Linked DNA regions of Homo sapiens: region 1 is linked to region 2. Evidence: promoter capture Hi-C in 16 types of primary human blood cells and fetal thymus (Javierre and others, 2016). All regions are on one chromosome and are shown on one strand. Each heading gives the region's core, a stretch centred on a gene start or on the middle of the fragment in contact. The rest is flanking DNA. Distances are from core to core; before and after follow the strand shown. Region 1 overlaps CRISP3 (cysteine rich secretory protein 3). Region 2 holds the start of PGK2 (phosphoglycerate kinase 2).

Region 1 (2,700 bases), core at 10-2,509, 56 kb after region 2:
ATAGCCAAGAAAAGATAATGTCTTAAATTTTTGCTTCTTAGAATTTACCACAAAAAAAATTTCATGGAACCTTCCATTAAGATCCTAATTTCTTAATTATCTCGGGTTTTCTGCAGAAAGTCCACTTTTTTTTCTCAAGCAATATAGTTGACCTACTCACGAAAAAAAATCTGTGGATATATTGAAGATATATTCACAACATATCTATTAGCTTTAATTTCCTTTTAATATTTGAAGTTGTTCACCACTAGTGGGAGGGGTTTTCCCCAAACTCAGCTTTCTGCATGGCTTATTTTGAGGCTGTAGATATCCCAGGTGATGTAGGATTCCAGTCTGAGAAATATGACCTGTAAGGTCATTTTTCAGCAAAGAATTATCATTGTTAATACAGAAAATTGAAAGACCCTGGGAGACTGCCTCCAAATGCCTGGTCATTAGAGGAGAGCATCTGGAGTCAGCATCTGAAGTGAGAGTTGGAATTAGTAATGAGAGAAAACAGGGAAAAGAGAACTTCCAGAACACTTTGATATCTATTTCACATTTTCTTAAGTGCTCACACACCAACAGCTATATTCTGTGAAGAAAGGCTGAGATTCAGCTACATAGCCTTGGACCGTTAGCCTACTTAGTGCAATTAAGACTTTGACTTTCTTGTATTTTCAGATGATAATTACCGATAGGAAAATAATCATCAATGATGTACAGGCTAGTCACTGTAAGATGAACACACAGAGGAGATTAGTATTAATTAAATCTTTTTTTCCCTAACATTCCCATTCTTGGCAAACATAAACATCTCATACACACCACCTGTAGACATTCCCAAACCTTTCCAAGCCCAATACCCTTTCACAAACATACAGCAAAAACCATGTGAAAATCACCACTCCACCTAGAAGCCAAAATTTACGCTGAAACTGTACTTACCCTACCTCATATTGTAGAAATTATGGTTTTTTTTTATTTTTAATTATAAGTTACATTTAACATTAAATGTTATTTTTCATATTGCAACCTTCTGTGCTTCAGGAACTTTTCTTATCTCTCTAGGGGATATGTTTTACCCCTTGCCAGCACCTTGTGGTACATCATCTTAGCAATTTGACGAAGTCTGTTGGGAGATGAAGTGTGTTGCCACATTGAAATATACTTTAAAAACTTTAGACTTTAATTATCCTATTTCAGTTTCTCAGGTTGCAAGATTATGGTCAGGAAAGTGAATGAATGTGTGAATTATTCTCTTAATTTGCATTATTGTCTGAATATACTCTGAGATTATATTTTTAATTATTTGACATAATTAAAAACATTTAATAAATACTCATGTATATTTGGTGACTGATACTAACCTTGGAACATAAACGAAACATAAAAATGAAAAATATTTGACATTTTTATTTCAAATTTCAGTGGTAATTGGGCTAATAGACTATATGTCCCTTATGAACAAGGAGCACCTTGTGCCAGTTGCCCAGATAACTGTGACGATGGACTATGCAGTAAGTTTGAAGTGATTAACTTGATAATAAAATAAAATGATCTGACATTTCTTCTAAGAATTGGGAAATCTGAAGACAACCAACTTAAGCAATGCCTTCATGCAAAGGACAAAAAGGAAAAAAAAGTCTGTCTGGCTCTGTCGCCCAGGCTGGAGTGCAGTGGTGCCATCTCGGCTCACTGCAACCTCCGCTTGCAGGGATCAAGTGATTCTTGTGCCTCAGCCTCCTGAGTAGCTGGGACTACAGGCACGTGCCACCACACCTGATTAATTTTTGTACTTTTTGTAGAGACAGGATTTTGCCATGTTGGCCACACTGGTCTCGAACTTCTGGCCATCAAGCGATCTGCCCACCTCAGCCACCCGAAGTGCTGGGATTACAGGTGTGAGCCATCACACCCAGCCTTACAGAGCATTTTTAAGTGAAAATTTTACACTGTTCAGTATCTATGTATCATTTGCAATGTAAAATTTGGCCTGTTATCATATGTAACCTGTTGAAACACTTACCATCCATGTTACATATTGGCATATATGAAAATGTGTCTGTGGAAATAACATTGTAATTAAATAGGAAGTTTATTCTCATCAAAGTTTATATCATTATACAAAATACAGCATTATTTTAAAAAAGGAAAACAAATATACATCTAAGAGTATGAGACCATAGAATATGGCTCAATCCAGACAGGGACTCCAAATACTGCAATTCCTCATATGCTAATGAACTTATCATACTAACTTCCTCATTTTTGCCATAGTGTAGTTACAATCATCAAGTTTAGTATAATAATCACTTGCACTTCTGCTTGCTAATAATTTTGTATACATTTTTAAAGTCAAAATCAAATCTGTATGTAGTATTAGTTTGCAGAAGCCTCAAAAATATTTTAGCAAAAAGGAGTAAATAAATTTATATCTCATACAATTTCATTTTGTGCTTTTATAAATAAAAGTACAAAGAGATGATATTTTTGTTTAACTAGGATATGTTACTAAAATTATTACTGACAATGCAGTTGACCCATTCATTGAGATTTTTACCTTTCAAATGCATTCACCTGACTGAATTGTAACATTTTTTTTCTGACTGAATTGTGTAGCTATAATTCAGAATACTGATAATACCAAAGCTATAAATCAACTAAAGAAGGAAAATCCAAATATTTCCAGCACTGCCAAATGCTGTTTTCTAAGAAGCT
Region 2 (2,700 bases), core at 129-2,628:
ATACAGGTTTTTGATGTCCTTGGATGAATATCTAGAAATAGGATTGATGACTTGTATGGTAAGTCTATGCATATTTCTAAGAAATTGCCAAGCTGTTTCCCAAAATGTCTGTAGCATATTTCATTCCTGGGAGCAACAAATGAGAGTTTCTGTTACTATATATTTTAACACCATTTAAGTTTGCTTTTAAATGCTGTTGACTCGATGTTCAACATTGAGGAACCGATAAACTGTTTTTTAAAGTGGCTGCACCATTAGACATTCCTATCAGCAATAAATGAGGATTCCAATTTGTCCACTTCTTTCTCAACACTTGTTTTTATTTTTTATTTTAGCCATCTTAATAGGAGATGCCTCAAATATATTTCTGTCAAAGCCTTCATTTTACATATTTAGTTCACTCAACTTATGGAGTAGAATGAAAAAAACTGTAAAGCCAATTTTCATTACTAAACCAACTAGCCACATACATTTGCTTTCTCCAAAAATAGAATATCTTACTCACTTTCAATTCTAATATATGTTTTCATCTTCATGAAAACCATGCATTTATTTTTCAGCTCAATTTCTAAGTTGTACAGGTAGGAAAGCAAACAGAGAGGAGACAAAAAATAAGGAGCCTCATCATAACATTGTAGTCTGAAAGAAATGTCACCATTACTTTCAGCACTTGTTACTGATACTCTCTTTGCTATGATCTTATGGGATTCTCCTGCAGAAGTGACCAAACATTCTTTCATGGTAGTCTGAAAATGGAAGAAGCAAAGTAATGAAAATATGACAGCATTCCCACCACGTCCCAGAATAGATCTAAAGATGAAGACTAACAACAAGCCACATCCTCAAAGAAATATTTATCAAGACAAGGAAAAAACAGAACTATACTATCCTGACTTGAATAAGCAAGGTTTCATATGAAAATCATTATTTCAAATATTCCTTTTATTTGGCACTGCAGAGGTTTTTACATATCAAAATGGTTAAGATTTGACATGAATGAGGTGTATGTAGGTTTGCGGGGGTGGGGGTGGAGTTCTTTTTGTTTTGTTTTTAATAATAAAAGCAACTGTTAACCGAGCTGTGGGGTGGGGGCAAAAAGAGCCAGAAGGCGGCGCACACCTCAGGACTATTCTTGTTTTTTTAGAACCATTCTTATTCTGGGGTTTCTTCACCTACCCAAGTCTCGCCTGAAGCCAGGTACAGCTCTATTCCACTACATGACCCTCTGCCCAGGAAGTTGGAATCTTCACCTAGCAACACAGTTCAGATCGAGATTGACAGGACCATGAGCCAATCACAAAGCTAGATTTGCTTTCCAGTCTAACAGTGGCCGTTGTGCTGGAGACAGTGAGGAGAAGAAAGGGGCGGGACAAGGGCAAAGGCGTTAGAAGTCACCACCGACCCAGCCCCTCAACAGCAAGTTGGTTCTTCAGCATTAAGATCCAGGTGTCAGCCTATGTCTTTATATTGTCAAGATGTCTCTTTCTAAGAAGTTGACTTTAGACAAACTGGATGTTAGAGGGAAGCGAGTCATCATGAGAGTAGACTTCAATGTTCCCATGAAGAAGAACCAGATTACAAACAACCAGAGGATCAAGGCTTCCATCCCAAGCATCAAGTACTGCCTGGACAATGGAGCCAAGGCAGTAGTTCTTATGAGTCATCTAGGTCGGCCTGATGGTGTTCCCATGCCTGACAAATATTCCTTAGCACCTGTTGCTGTTGAGCTCAAATCCTTGCTGGGCAAGGATGTTCTGTTCCTGAAGGACTGTGTAGGCGCAGAAGTGGAGAAAGCCTGTGCCAACCCAGCTCCTGGTTCAGTCATCCTGCTGGAGAACCTGCGCTTTCATGTGGAGGAAGAAGGGAAGGGCCAAGATCCCTCTGGAAAGAAGATTAAAGCTGAGCCAGATAAAATAGAAGCCTTCCGAGCATCACTTTCCAAGCTAGGGGACGTCTATGTCAATGATGCTTTTGGCACTGCACACCGCGCTCATAGTTCCATGGTGGGAGTGAATCTGCCCCATAAAGCATCCGGATTCTTGATGAAGAAGGAACTAGATTACTTTGCTAAAGCCTTGGAAAACCCAGTGAGACCCTTTCTGGCTATACTTGGTGGAGCCAAAGTGGCAGACAAGATCCAACTTATCAAAAATATGCTGGACAAAGTCAATGAGATGATTATTGGTGGTGGAATGGCTTATACCTTCCTTAAGGTACTCAACAACATGGAGATTGGTGCTTCCCTGTTTGATGAAGAGGGAGCCAAGATCGTTAAAGATATCATGGCCAAAGCACAAAAGAATGGTGTAAGGATTACTTTTCCTGTTGATTTTGTTACTGGGGACAAGTTTGACGAGAACGCTCAGGTTGGAAAAGCCACTGTAGCATCTGGCATATCTCCTGGCTGGATGGGTTTGGACTGTGGTCCTGAGAGCAACAAGAATCATGCTCAAGTTGTGGCTCAAGCAAGGCTAATTGTTTGGAATGGGCCGTTAGGAGTATTTGAATGGGATGCCTTTGCTAAGGGAACCAAAGCCCTCATGGATGAAATTGTGAAAGCCACTTCCAAGGGCTGCATCACTGTTATAGGGGGTGGAGACACTGCTACTTGCTGTGCCAAATGGAACACTGAAGATAAAGTCAGCCATGTCAGCACTGGAGGCGGTGCCAGTCTAGAGCTTCTGGAAGGTAAAATCCTTC

The links. Contacts are between HindIII fragments. The CHiCAGO score rates a contact against its expected background, and 5 or more counts as called.
Region 1: a fragment that was not itself captured here is called in contact with the fragment with the promoter of PGK2 in region 2 in 2 of 17 cell types (erythroblasts and megakaryocytes); the score reaches 11.5 in erythroblasts.

Annotation. Positions count from the first base shown.
Region 1 is chr6:49,729,962-49,732,661 of GRCh38, reverse strand. CRISP3 (cysteine rich secretory protein 3) reads left to right here. Exons shown (of 8, transcript NM_006061.4): 7 at 1,411-1,499. Among named protein-coding and RNA genes, the nearest start is that of CRISP3, 13 kb to the left of the region's middle. The HindIII fragment of the contact is 2,883 bases long and covers 1-2,700 here.
Region 2 is chr6:49,785,963-49,788,662 of GRCh38, reverse strand. PGK2 (phosphoglycerate kinase 2) reads left to right here and starts at 1,378. Exons shown (of 1, transcript NM_138733.5): 1 at 1,378-2,700. The coding sequence starts at 1,476. The HindIII fragment of the contact is 4,736 bases long and covers 1-2,700 here.